Regions from separate parts of the Homo sapiens genome. Here all the other regions are linked to region 5. Evidence: promoter capture Hi-C in human tissues and cell types (Jung and others, 2019). All regions are on one chromosome and are shown on one strand. Each heading gives the region's core, a stretch centred on a gene start or on the middle of the fragment in contact. The rest is flanking DNA. Distances are from core to core; before and after follow the strand shown. Region 1 overlaps EFCAB6 (EF-hand calcium binding domain 6). Region 2 holds the start of PNPLA3 (patatin like domain 3, 1-acylglycerol-3-phosphate O-acyltransferase). Region 3 overlaps EFCAB6 (EF-hand calcium binding domain 6). Region 4 has its middle 15 kb from the start of PNPLA5. Region 5 holds the start of MPPED1 (metallophosphoesterase domain containing 1).

The links. Contacts are between HindIII fragments. The study calls those that stand out against the background at their distance.
Region 1: a contact is called between a fragment that was not itself captured here and the fragment with the promoter of MPPED1 in region 5, in 8 of the 25 tissues and cell types used here (IMR-90 fibroblasts, bladder, dorsolateral prefrontal cortex and 5 more).
Region 2: the fragment with the promoter of PNPLA3 here is called in contact with the fragment with the promoter of MPPED1 in region 5 in 3 of the 25 tissues and cell types used here (H1 embryonic stem cells, IMR-90 fibroblasts and lymphoblastoid cells).
Region 3: a contact is called between a fragment that was not itself captured here and the fragment with the promoter of MPPED1 in region 5, in 2 of the 25 tissues and cell types used here (IMR-90 fibroblasts and dorsolateral prefrontal cortex).
Region 4: a contact is called between a fragment that was not itself captured here and the fragment with the promoter of MPPED1 in region 5, in 3 of the 25 tissues and cell types used here (bladder, lymphoblastoid cells and spleen).

The regions. Positions count from the first base shown.
Region 1 is chr22:43,732,621-43,735,320 of GRCh38, reverse strand. The region is part of intron 7 of EFCAB6 (EF-hand calcium binding domain 6); the gene reads left to right. Among named protein-coding and RNA genes, the nearest start is that of EFCAB6, 78 kb to the left of the region's middle. The HindIII fragment of the contact is 8,243 bases long and covers 1-2,700 here.
Region 2 is chr22:43,922,505-43,925,204 of GRCh38, reverse strand. PNPLA3 (patatin like domain 3, 1-acylglycerol-3-phosphate O-acyltransferase) reads right to left here and starts at 1,400. Exons shown (of 9, transcript NM_025225.3): 1 at 1,107-1,400. The coding sequence starts at 1,293. RefSeq lists enhancers at 98-840, 841-1,585. The HindIII fragment of the contact is 10,497 bases long and covers 1-2,700 here.
Region 3 is chr22:43,805,499-43,808,198 of GRCh38, reverse strand. All of the region lies in intron 2 of EFCAB6 (EF-hand calcium binding domain 6), which reads left to right. Among named protein-coding and RNA genes, the nearest start is that of EFCAB6, 5.5 kb to the left of the region's middle. The HindIII fragment of the contact is 3,918 bases long and covers 1-2,700 here.
Region 4 is chr22:43,905,581-43,908,280 of GRCh38, reverse strand. No RefSeq gene overlaps it. Among named protein-coding and RNA genes, the nearest start is that of PNPLA5, 15 kb to the right of the region's middle. RefSeq lists an enhancer at 2,618-2,700. The HindIII fragment of the contact is 6,970 bases long and covers 1-2,700 here.
Region 5 is chr22:43,410,614-43,413,313 of GRCh38, reverse strand. It overlaps MPPED1 (metallophosphoesterase domain containing 1), which reads right to left and starts at 1,300. Exons shown (of 7, transcript NM_001044370.2): 1 at 1,156-1,300. The HindIII fragment of the contact is 18,974 bases long and covers 1-2,700 here.

The sequences.
Region 1 (2,700 bases), core at 14-2,513, 320 kb before region 5:
TGGGGTGTGCGGCAGGAGGGTGACGAACAGCAGAACATTTAGCTGCCTCATGGTGTTTGAACGCCACCACCACCTGCTCCTGACTCCAAGGGCAGCACACAGAAGCCTGCACGGGCATTTTTTTGAGCCTCCTATAAACTCCACATCATTTAGAAGAAGCCAAATGTTTGGCTTCTGTGACTACATGAGTTTTGAGTGAAAGCCACTGGAAGATGGGCCCGTGTCTAGCTTAATTTCTACAGTACCCAGCCGAGAGGTCCATTCCCTCTTCGTGCCTTTTCCCAAACACTTTTCTAAATACGCTCCAGACCATTAACAAAAGCACCAAGCCTCATTTCACCCGGAGCCCAAGCTTTTCGCATTGCACTGGTGTTCTAAGTTGCTATGAAAATGGGTCCCGGTAGCTCCTTGTATCTCATAAAGACAATGTGGCTGCTGCTAGAAGCAGAGTGGAAGAATTTGCCCCTGAGGCAAGGAAGTCTAGAGGGCATGTGACATGTCACTGATGCTGCAGGGCCTGAAAAGCAGGCAGACTTGAAAAAATAGCATCTGTTTCTCTTTTGAGTATGTTTTTCTTTTTTTTTTCTCTTTATAACCCACCTCAGAATATAAAACACATAATAGATGTTTTAATTTTTACATCTTTTCCGGCTGGGAAAGTGTCCAGAATAAGATCCAAACAAAACAAATTAAATAATTTTGTGCACGCAATTATAGAACAGAGGCAGCACTCTTCTAAAACAGGCAATCAAAAAACAAAACAGTGTTTTATTTGACAATAAACCTTGTGTTTGGCACTGCAGTCTCCAACCTAGTAAATCTATAAAAAATGTTACTGTCTGTTTCCCCATCTCATAAGTATTGAATAATAACTCCACAAATTTTTATTTGAGATTTTTTAAGCCTCAAAAACAATGCTATTTTCATGATAAGGCTTGAGAAAATGAACATAATAGAATTGCTTTCTTTTAGACTCAGAAACACAGAAGATCAAAAGTAGACCATTTCTTCAATTGCTTTAATGCTTTTCTTATTGAAGCTCAAGAATATACTCTTTCCTGGAGAAGCTGCTTCAGTATTAACTTTGTCTTTTTTATTTTTGAGCAAGAAACAATGCATTTTTGAATCCTCTCTTTTATCTAACAGCTTTCTATTTAATATCAACATTCGGCTCTTGGTGTGGTAGAAATGGCCCAGGCTTTGAAGTCAGGCTGCTGGAGGTGAAGTCTGTGCTCTCTCCTCCCTGGTTCTAGGGCCTCAGAGTAGCTCCTGGGCCTTGTCAAGACTCAGTTTTCTCTTAAAGAAATGGGGACTGGCCGGGCGCGGTGGATCACGCTTGTAATCCCAGCACTTTGGGATGCTGAGGCAGGCGGATCATGAGGTCAAGAGATTGAGACCGTCCTGGCCAACATGGTGAAACCCCATCTCTACTAAAAGTACAAAAATTAGCCAGGCATGGTGGTGCACACCTGTAGTCCCAGCTACTTGGGAGGCTGAGGCAGGAGAATCGCTTGAACCCGGGAGGCGGAGGTTGCAGTGAGCTGAGATCGCACCACTGCACTCCAGCCTGGCAACAGAGCGAGACTCCATCTTAAAGAAAAAAAGGGGGGACTGAGCAGCCCACCTCTCAGGGCTGGGATGAAGACTCAACAAAATGTAAACAACATGCCTGTGATGCGCTTGCACATAGTAGGGCTGATTTCACAGTGACCATCTCATCATCATAAAGACTCCGTGAATGCCCTTTACCCTCTGATGACCTGTTCCATTTAGGCAGCAGACTACTCTCCAACCTACATAAAACAAGAGGCCAGAGATACAATTACCACCAAGCCCCATACTTAATCAGGACATCTCAAAACCCATTGAGTGTTGTGTTTCCCATCTCCCTCCAGCCTACTCTCCACTGCCCTGGAGGCCAGTGTGTTTGATATAGGTGAAATCATTTATGAGCAGCCTTGTAAAACCAGCAAACAAATCACTACAGTTCAGCCTGTTGCCTGAGCAGATGAATGAAACCCAGTTCCAGGTGGTGACGCTGGAGAGGTTTATGAGCTGATTGGAGTCATACCCTTCTCCCCTCAATTGGGTCTTCTGGTTTCTCAAACTTACCACCTCATTTTCACAAGACAGAGACCGTAGATGAAAGATGAAGCTCTTTAGGGAGTTTCACTGTTAACATCTGGCAGCGATCACACCTAGAGATCATTTATCTTATTAAAACAATAGGCAAGAGTCATCAAAGTGGAAAAAAAGGTATGCATTGAAATAACTACATGGCATTACTCTTTGTTAAATTTGGAAAACAGAAAAATAAATACTTTAAGTGATAATTACCAAATTTTTAGAAAGCAGTATGAGATTAGATAATTATAGAAATCAACACATATGGAGATAATATAACCAAACATTTAAAAACCATCAATTTTTAGAAATGTGATAACACAGAAATGATCTAGAAAACCATTTATCAGGTGGAAGGCTTGAATAATAGAAAATTTATTTTAAAAATTCAAACATCTTATTTATCTTAACTTTAAAAAAAGGTTATCTCGGCTGGGCACAGTGGCTCATGCCTGTAATTCCAGCACTTTAGGAAGCTGAGGTGAGCAGATCACTTGAGGCCAGGAGTTCGAGACCAGCCTGGCCAACATGGAAAAACCCCGTGTCTACTAAAAATACAAAAATTAGCCAGGCGTG
Region 2 (2,700 bases), core at 151-2,650, 510 kb before region 5:
GGAGAGGGGAGGGTGGGCCTAGGTCAGTGGAAACTAGAGAAGAGGATGGGATTGGGGGGTGTCCAGGGATGCACTCCAGCCCCCAGGAAGGGTCCCAAACACTGGAGGAGGAGGAGGAGGAGGAAACAACTTTCCTCTTTCAAGGTACCCCTCCCCACTAGACTCCAGTTAGCCTGCCCTGGAGGATGCCCAGGGTTGCCCTTCTGGGAGGCTACCCAGCCCCCAGAAGGCTGGGCTGCGACCCAGAGAGCGTAGGCAGCAGGGAGCAGTGGCTCACGCCTGTAACCCCAGCATTCTGGGAGGCCGAGGTGGGCAGATCACGAGGTCAGGAGATCGAGACCATCCTGGCTAACACGGTGAAACCCCGTCTCTACTAAAAAATACAAAAAATTAGCCGGGCTTGGTGGCTGGCGCCTGTAGTCCCAGCTACTCGGGAGGCTGAGGCAGGAGAATGGCGTGAACCTGGGAGGTGGAGCTTGCAGTGAGTTGAGATCACGCCACTGCACTCCAGCCTGGGCGACTGAGCGAAACTCCGTCTCAAAAAAAAAAAAAGAAAAAAAGAAAAGAAAAGCGCAGGCGCGGGGTGTCTTGAGTCCCTCAATCCCCAGAGGGAAGGAGCCCACCGTGGGGGACCGGCCAAAGCCCCACTCTTTGTCCGGCCCAGGGCAAATCGGCCCCTCGGCAGCTCAGCCCGTCCAGCCCCTCCCGAGAGGACACAGGGGACCCGGAGTCCGCAGGGGCCAGCACTACCCTCCGCCCCGGGTCCCGCTCCCTACTCCCCGTCGCTCCGAGACGCTCCGACTCTCAGTCCGGAGGTGAGGGTCTCCCTTCATGCACGGGCGCCTGATGGGGGTAGGGGTGGGGACGCACGAGAGTCCCAGGCTTCGGCCCGGACCGCTCGGGGTTCCAACGCCCCCTTCCCGGGCCCAGGAACAGCGCCCCCGCAGGAAGCATCTGCCTCGGAGGGGGCCCTCGGGATGCACCCCGCCGTGTCCGCGTCCGATGCCCGCTCCTCCAGGGCCCCGCGACCCCTGGGGATCCCCCGCTCCCCGGCCTAGGGGGCACCCACTCCGCACGTGGAGCCCGGGCAGCGTCCCCAGACGCACCCAGCGGGATACCGGAGAGGACGCCGACGCAGTGCAACGCCCCGGCCGAAGCGCCGAACAACATGCGCGCGTCGCGGAGGAGGTGCGGGGCGTGCTCGCTCAGGCAGCGGGTCGCCCCGACGTGGTAGAAGCCCAGGAAGCCGCAGCCCGCGAAGGACAAGCTCCAGCCGCGCTCTGCGTCGTACATGGCGGCGGCGGCGGGGCGGGGGCGCGGGTTAGGATCTGGGTCGGGATCGGGAATCGGCTCGGGTCCTGATCCGCAGCAGCTCCGCCCGGCGCCCGCAAGCGCTCTCTACCCTGCCTCAGTGTCTCGGCCAGGGCATTCCCAGCGCGACGTCAGCCCCGCCCCCCTCGGACCATGCAAATGAGCCGGCGGGAGGCCCAATGAGCGGGCAGGACGCCCTCCCGGGCGGGGCTTGGAGGGGGATGGGGGTGGGGACGACGTCTGGCGGGGGATGGGGGCGGGGACCGGGTCTGGGAGGGGGATTGGGGGCGGGGGCTGGGAGGGCGATGGCGGAGGACCTGTGCGGGGGGGTCCAGCCTGGGAGCTCCCCGCAGCGACTCGAGAGAAAGCATTTTTCCAAAACTCCAGCAGACACTGCATGTCCTGGAGAGAAACGGCTTCCTTCTGTTTTCCTTGACATCTGTTAAGTCGGGGGGTGGGAGGGGAGTCGCAGTTGGTGCCCACTTGATCCTTAACATCACTTTAACACTTTATCACGTCCCTTTTGACCCGGGGAGAGCCAGCCTAAAGCAGGCACCACCACCTGAAGAGTCTACTCTCTGCGTTGTTGCAGGCTTTCTGTATGATTGCCTTCAAGTGCTGGGGATTTTTTTCATTGAATGAAAGTAACAGGAAGTGTCCATTTCAAAGTTTCCTTTGTAAGTAAAAAATGTGAATGACGGGTGCTGGGGCTGGGGTCGGGGCCCTGTAGGAACTGGGGAGTGGGGAGTGCTTTGGGAAGCTGAGGCCTGGATGATTCCTGGTCCCTTAGTCCCTTAGTCCGTTCAGGTGCGAAAACAAAACACCTTAAAGCGGAGGGGCTTACAAACAAGAGATTTATTTCTATCTTTTTCCCCCCAGGCTGGAGTGCAATGGCACGATCTTGGCCCACTGCAGCCTCTTCCTCCCGGGTTCAAGGGATTCTCCTGCCTCAGCCTCACGAGTAGCTGGGATTACAAGCATGCGCCACCATGCCTGACTAATTTTTTGTATTTTTAGTAGAGATGGGGTTTCACCATGTTGGCCAGGCTAGTCTAGAACTCCTGACCTCAAGTCATCACCCACCTCAGCCTCCCAAAATGCTGGGATTACAGGGGTGAGCCACTTCGCCTGGCTTATTTCTCTGTCTCACAGTTCTGGAGGCTGGAAAGCCCAAGTTCAAGATACCAGCAGATTTGGTCCCTGGTGAGAGGTATGGCTCGTAGAAGGTGCCATCTTGCCACATCCTCACCTCTGGGCCTCTTTGATAAGGGCACCAATCCCATTCATAAGGGTGCCACCCTCTCATCAAATCACCTTCCAAAGGCCCCCGCCTCCAAAGATCATCACCTTAAGGTGTAGGATTTCAACAGATGACCTTTAGTGGGGACA
Region 3 (2,700 bases), core at 102-2,601, 390 kb before region 5:
ATACCTAATACAATGTAAATGCTATGGAAATCGTTATACCATATCATTGAGACAAGGAAAAAAGTCCATACATATTCAGTACAGACATCAACATCCATATTTTTCCTGAATATTTTCAATCCACTGTTGAATCTGTGGATGTGGAACCCATGGATATGGACGACAACTGTATCTCCCTTTTTCAAATGAGGAAACTGAGTCAGGAGGAGGTTAATTAACTTGCAAGTTGTTGTGGTGGATGGTGGAGCCAGTTTGACCCTATGCCTGCTTGACGTCAAAGGTTTTGATTTTTCCACCGTCCAAGAATGTAGATGCTCAGTAAATGGCCAATGTGTATATGGAAGTGTGTGGAAGGCTATAAAGGGAACTTGATAGTTGATATGTCCCAAAATATAACAGTCCATTTGATATCAGTATAGACAAGAAGATTTTTCTCAAGTGTTTGGATTTAACTGCCAAAACCTTTTGTGTTGCTTACAATTTTTTCCAATTTAGTCGAGTGATAATTTCCACACCCCTCTCCATGATACAGTTCCAGCAATTTTTGCTTCTGGTGCCATTTCTATTTGGCTGTGCACACTTTTTACTCTTGTGTTGAATTATGTTTTCTCTGGATGCCAAGGCAGATGGATGGCACTTTTGTTATGATTCTGATATAAATAGCACGTGTTTAAAACTGGACATCAATACTTCTCTGGCAAATAAACAAATATATCAGTGAGATAGCCTTCTAATTGTGTTTTTCCCATTGGTTAAGAAGTGTATTTGATGGTCTGTGACTTGATGCTTATTTTGGGGGTATTAGTTTTTATGATCCTTGCCAATTTCTACCTCACCAAGTTCTGAAGTAATCACATTCATTAATGTCTCAAAATTCTCTTTATTTTGAAAACCTCAGCTGAGGATGGTGTAAAGTCAGGGGTGAGCTACAGAACTCCTCACAGTGCCTTGGTCATACTCAGAACCTTGTTTAGCTTTCAAAATCAAGGGTAAAATTAGCCTAAGCTTCTATCCCTTGCAGTCATAGTGTTGATAACTGTGGTCCATCAAGAGCAAAGTTTAATGGGGTGCTTACTGCATGCTATGCCATGTTGAGTGTAAAAAGGTAAGTGGAGTCCACTGGAGGGACTTATTGTCTAGCAGGGGCCAACATAAAGGTCTGGAAGCAGAGAATCAAAGTGAAAATTGAGGTAGGACTAGAGGAACAGATGGGAGAATATTAGAACTTTTACTTCATATTTTACCCACCACATCTGCAGCCCCACAGCAAAGTGATGGAATTACGAGTGGCTTTTATCTTTTGGTTCTTTTCTTTATTAAATGAAACAATTAGCAAAGCACACCTATAAGACTTAAGTTCTTTGTAAAGGCATGATTAATTTTGTTTAAGGACAATAGGAAGGTCTCCTGAAGGAAGGGGATATACCCTCAGTTTTGAAAGATTAATTGAAGTGTGCCAGGTGCAAAAGAATGAAGGAAATTCTAGCACAGGCATGAACCAAAGCTCAGAAGTGAGGAACTACGTGGTGTGTTGGGAGCACTGGGTAAGAACGTAGCATGCCTGGAGGTAATGGCGTCTGGAAGGATCACCTGAAGCCAGGTGGTTAATTATATGAATGACCTTCTACCCCACAATTAAGAGTTTGAATTTCAGGCCTGGTGCAGTGGCTCATACCTGTAATCCCAACACTTCGGGAGGCTGAGGTGGGAGAATCACTTGAGCCCAGAAATTCGAGACCAGCCTGGGTAACATGGTGAAACCCTGCCTCTACAAAAATTAGGCAGGTGTGGTGGCATGCACCTGCAGTCCCAGTTATTCAGGAGGCTGAGGCTAAGGTGCAAGGATCACTTGAGCCCTGAAGGTGAGGCTGCAGTGAGCCAAGATTGCACCACTGCATTCCAGCGTGAGACCTCCTCTCAAAAAAAAAAAAAAATTGAATTTCAGTCTTTATGCCCTGGAGAAGCATTGCTTCTTCTCTTTTTTCCCTTCCCCTCCCCTCCCCTCCCCTCCCCCTCCTCTCCTCTCTTTTCTTTTGAGATAGTCTCACTTGATCACCCAGGCTGGAGTGCAGTGGTATGATCTCGGCTCACTGCAACTTTCACCTCCTGGGTTCAAGCGATTCTTGTACCTTAGCCTCCCGAGTAGCTGGGATTACAGGCACTCACCACCACACCCAGCTAAGTTTTTGTATTTTTAGTAGAGTCAGGATTTTGTCATGTTGGCCAGGCTAGTCTCGAACTCCTGGCCTCAAGTGATCTGCCCACCTCGGCCTCCCAAAATGTTGGGATTACAGGCATGAGCCACTGCTCCCAGCCCTATTTTTCTTTCTTAAAAGAAATTTTATTTATTTTTATTGATGCATAATCCATGTACATAGCTCCAGGGTACATGGGATAATTTAATACATTCATATAATTTGTAAAGATCAAATCAGTATACTTGGGATATCCATCACCTGAGATATTTGTCTTTTCTTTATGTTAGAACCATTCAAATTCTTCTTTTCTAGCTATTTTGAAATGTACAATAGGTTATTGTAATCTATAGTCACCTTACTGATCTGTCTAACACTAGGTGTTATTTCTTCTATCAGACCATATATTTGTACCCATTAATCAACCTCTCTTCATCCTCTCCTCCCCTCTACCTTTCCTGGCCTGTGCTAACCACCAGTTTACTCTATCTTTATGAAATCCACT
Region 4 (2,700 bases), core at 181-2,680, 490 kb before region 5:
GATCTCGGACTCCTGACCTCAGGGGATCCAACCGTCTTGGCCTCCCAAAGTTCAGGGATTACAGGCGTGGGCCACCCCACCTGGCCTGAAATTTTTTTAAAGGCAAACGACACCCCATTGCTGACACCCCAACCCCCTGACAAGTGAACCCTTGTGACATCCAGTTGACACATGTTCAACTCAAGAACTCACGCAGGGACAGTCGCTGCGGAAATGGGGACACCCTCCATTCAACCATTCTGGACACTTCCCTCTTCAGAAGGGCATCCACTGCCATAATCTTCTGTTGGAGAGAGGATTGTCTGAAAAAACAGGAGTCAATTTCACCCAGCGTTCTTTAAACACACCCAGAAGTGTGTCTACCGGGGCGAGGTCCCAGCCACTCACTGCAGACTGGGGTTCTGGGCTGACTTTGGAGACTGGCCCCGCAGGTTCCCCTGGCGCTGTGGTCCCAACATTGTGAGTCGGGACAAATATGCTCCTTCCCGCGGAGGCTTTCTTCAAACTCTTACAGGGGTTTGTGACTGCAGGAGGTAGAAATCATACTTTACCAGTCTCAGCCTTGAGGCTGACATGGAGCGGAGACTCTGCGTCGTGTGGAGCCGAGAGAAGTCAGTTCACGGGGACCTGGGGACTCCCCATCCCTGCATCTTCTCCACATTCTGCAGAAGCGTCTCTGATGCCCACCTTCTGGCAGGGCTCAGAGGCAGCCTGGGTTTTGCTGTGGAGCCCTGGGCCAGCCCCCACAGGAGGTTGGACATGGGGCAGGGTTCTCAGGTGCCCCAGGGCCTGACCACATCCCATGGAGGAGCCACAGCTGCTTGGTATGAGTATAGAGAGAGCCCACAGCCCACCGCAGGACTCAGATGCCATTTGGGAAGAGGGGGGCCTGAAGCACAACCTGTAGGAAGAAAGAGGGGAGGGGTCAGCAGGACATGAAACAACTCCATCCCCAACCCTCTGAACCAACAGGCACCCTGGCACCCGAACAGGTTGGCACCCATTGGGGCAGGGCCCAATCACTACTCTAGGCAAAGGGAGGGGACACCAATTAGGGCCCAGACCTCCTAATTAGAGGCCTCCGATCTGGCCCAGACCCACTGTGTGGCCTTGGCCGAGCCACGCCCTTGCTGCTTCAGTTTCCCCACCTATAAAGTGGGAATAAGAAGGCCAGAGCTCCAACGTCACAGCTGAGCCACACACAGAGGACCAAATGAAACAGGTGCCTGGGGTAGCTCTGCAGAACCTCCAAGCCTCGTGCTGTCCCAGGCACACTTTCCATTTGCTCTGTGCTAAAAAGTAAAGGCTTCTGGCTGCTACAGAGGTGAATTTCTTTTTTTCTTTTTTTTGAGATGGAGTCTCGCTTTGTCACTCAGGCTGGAGTGCAGTGGTGCCATCTCGGCTCACTGCAAGCTCCACCTCCTGGGTTCATGCCATTCTCCTGCCTCGGCCTCCCGAGTAGCTGGCAGTACAGGTGCCCGCCACCATGCCCAGCTAATTTTTTTGTATTTTTAGTAGAGATGGGGTTTCACTGTGTTAGCCAGGATGGTCTCCATCTCCTGACCTCATGATCCGCCCGCCTTGGCCTCCCAAAGTGCTGGGATTATAGGCATGAGCCACTGTGCCCGGCCGAATTTTTTTTTTTTTTAATGAAACAAAACAAAACAAAACAAAACTGAGGACCAGGTGTGGTGGCTCTTGCTTGTAATCCCAGCACTTTGGGAGGCCAAGGCCAGAGAGAATCACTTGAGCCCAGGAGCTTGAGACCAGCCTGGGCAACACAGTGAGACCCCCATCTCTTAAAAAAATTTATTTTTTAATTAACAGGACATGGAGGCACGCACTTGTAGTCCAAGCTAGTTAGGAAGCTAAGGTGGGAGGATCGCTAGAAACCTGGAAGTTTGAGGCTGCTGTGAGCCATGACTGCACCTCTCCACTCCAGCCTGCACAACAGAGGAAGACCCTTTCTCAAACATAAAATAAATAAATAAATGATAATTAAGGGCTTAGATTGAGGGGGCCTTGCACATCTGGGCTCTGCTGTTAGTTCTTACAGCTTAAAGGACACATATTATAGCACATCGCTGTAGACCTGTTGGGAGCATGTTTATCAGGAATTTATCTGTTTTCTCATTATCTAAAACACTGGGCTCCCACCCCCAGCCCCCACCAAAAAATAAACAATTATTCCATCCAACACTTACTGAGTCTCTGCAGCCTCGTGGAAGACAGATGGTGTGGCGGATGTGGGGATTGGCCACAGGGTCAGATGAAGCAAGCTTAACACCACAGACAGCTCTGTGACCTCGGGCAGGGCTGAGAAGTGGGGATGAGACCTCCTCCCTGGAAGGGTCGCTGTGACGATTCCATTAATGTCTCCACAGAACATGCTGGACAGCGCCTGGCATGGGGTAGATGTTCAAGAAACAGTAACTGCTAGCGTTACAATCACTGTGACTGCTAAGATTATAATTAACACTGTTTTCCAGAGGGATTCATGGTCCCTGCTTTCTGGAAGTTTCTGGGTTGGTGGCCAAAACACATAAATTTATAATCAAAAATAGGAAGAGCTCTAGCAGAGTAGCACAGGACAATTGTGGCTTTAATAACGAATTATAACGGCGTGTACTGTGACAGCACGCTACGTCGTAGGCACTGAGGGCAGGAGGTGCACCTGGATTTTGTGTCATGCTCATCATA
Region 5 (2,700 bases), core at 51-2,550:
GATCCCTGCTAACAAGTCTCCCAGTGCCATTCAACTCCCGTGAGCCAGCTCCGCCATTCAACAGCCAGCCCACTTTTGTTCCCCCAGTTTAATTTCATAATTGTTTGCCACTTAACAAGCTCTCCTCTGGGCCATTCAATAGAGCAGGGGAAATGGGGAGGGGGAAGGCAAAGAAACTCTGGGAGGGGAGCTGGGAGCCAGGCCAGCCCAGCACTGGGGAAGAGACATCCCAGAGAGGTCAGCTGGACAGGGGTGGGGGCCAGTTCCGGAGTGGAGCCTCCTGACACCAACTGGGCCACCCAGCTTGAGCCCGGAGAGGTGGGAGGGAAAGGAGCAGGGTGAGTTCCGAAGGCCAGGCCGGGGCCTGCCAGACTCCTGGGCACATCAGTGCTCTGAATGACACGCCTCTGGCCCTGCCAGGGTGAAGGGAGACAGCATGAATTCACGCTCCCGTAACATGTCCCAGAACAAACACACAGGAGACAGAACTGCTCCTTAGTTTGGGCATTCCATGATCAACATTCCCTTTGAGGGCTGGGACCTGTCTAGGTAGCCACTGAATCCCCTGGCCGAGCACATAGCAGACAGGAATAAATATGTGTTGAGTGAGTGGATGGATGGATGGATGGATGGATGGATGGATGGGAGGGAGGGATGAATGGATGGAAGGAAATGGATGAAGTTTCCAGCAATACCTAGCAAAAGTGGCCACTCGGCCAGCGTTCGTTCCCTATCTCTTCCCCCCCAAGTGCCAGCAGGGGCTTGGCAGCGCACACAGTAGGCTCTCTACAAGCGGGGGCTGCTATTGTTACCACTATCATCATCACTGGCACTCCACCAGCCCGCTGCTTCCACCAGCTACTCCGCCAGCAGCAGCAGCGACTGGCGAGCAAGGGAAAAGTTTCGCTGACCCCGCGGCCCCAGCCGGAGTCCCGCGCCCTGGCGGAGCCCCCTCCCGCCGCCGCCCGCTAGGCAGGCGGGGCAGCTGGGGTGCCCAGCCCGCTTCCCGCACCCGGCAAAGGCGGCCAAAGTAACTTTGCGGGCGCCCCTGCGCAGCGCCGCGGGCGTCGCCCAGCGCCTGGAGAGGGTCCCGGCCGCGCCCCGCGCCCGGCCTCCCGCCCGCGCCCGCCGCGCCCCGCCCGCCTCCGGTCCTACCTGGCCCCGGGCTCCTCTTCGGCGGCCGCGGCGGCTGCGAGCAGCAGCGCGCACCGAGGGAGGCAGGGGCTCCCGGGAGGGAGGCGCGCAGGGGCGGGGGCTCCTCCGGCGGCGGCCGCCTCGCCGCGCGTCCGAGGCTGCAAGTGGGAGCCAGACTCCTCCTTCGTGGGGCGGGGGGCTCCCCGCGCCCCCTCCGCCGCCCGCCCGCGCGCCGCGAGGCTCCGAGCCTCCTTGGCTCCCCCCGCCCGCCGCCGCCCGCCTCCCCACGCCCGCCCTCCCCGCCTCTCCGCGCCCGGCCGCCGGGAGGGGCGCGCTCGCGGCCTCGGTCCCGGCCCTTGCGCCGCCACCCGCCGGGGCCCCCGCCAGGCCCGCCAGGCCTCGGCCCTCGGCCCCCGCCCGGGCTCGGAGTCCGCATCCCGCTGCGGAGGGACAGGGAGCGCGGCCGCGGGCCTGGACGCGGGAGGAGGAGCGGGGCCCGCGCTGCGGAAAAGGGAGGGGGCCGCCCCACTGCGCCCGGCGCCCCTCTTGGCGCCCGCCCCCAGCCCCGGACCGGGCCGCGCGCGGGCTGGGCAGGGAGCGGGGCGGGGGCGCTCTCACCTCCGGATCCGTGGCCTCCGCAGCGGGCACCGCGTGCAGGGGCGTGCGCGGCTCCTTCCGGGGCGCCGCAGCCTTCGCCCGAGGCCCGGACCCCCTCCTGGGGCCGCCGGGGCACCCTGCTGTGGGCCCCTCCCGCCCGGGGTCTGGAAGGTCCCCCTCCGGAGACGGAGACACTCTGACCCCAGCTCCCAGTCTGAATAGGTCGGGGTCCTCCTCCTGGGCCACCATCTCTTCCACTCGGGAGTCACAGGTCCCCAATCCCGGGCACAGCAGGTAGCCTGCAGCGGCCGGAGCCCCAACGGGATGGGTAAACAAGTCAGGAACTCAGACGGCGCGACACCCAGTGTAAAGAGGCCCTGCCTTGCTGGGAAGAGCAGAGACCATCGCCTTCAGTGTCGGGGGTCACCCTGGGGAGTTTAAGGCCCTGTGGCTTCCAGCCCCTTGCCGCGGGTGGGACGGGGATTCCAGGGCCTTGTATAGTTAGGGTGCAGATCACTCTGGCCTGGGCCTCCCAGACTGAGAGGAAGATGAAAAGGGGCTGTGGCTCCTCAGAGGCCCAAAGCCCCTCAACAAATGCTTGTAGGGTCTCCCTTCACCAACACACACATCACACAATCCCCAAGGACACCCTCTGCGGGCCCCTCAGGCCTATTCTGCCCCTGAGGACTGCTATCTGGTGTGGCTTCCTGGAGGTGGGGACAGCCCAGTTGAATGAGTGTATGCCAGGAGAGAAGGCCTGGAAAAGACATCCAGGCCGAGGGAATGCGGCATGCAAAGGCCTTGGCATGTGAGTTCATTGGGGCTAGAGACAAAGGAAAAGCAAGGGAGGGAAGATGAGGTGGCAAGGCTGGGAGTGAGGGAACAGAAGCCAGATCGGGAAGAGCCTTGGATAGACTTTATCAGGGGCAGTGGGAGCCATAGAGGGTTTTTAAGCAGGGCTGTGACTTG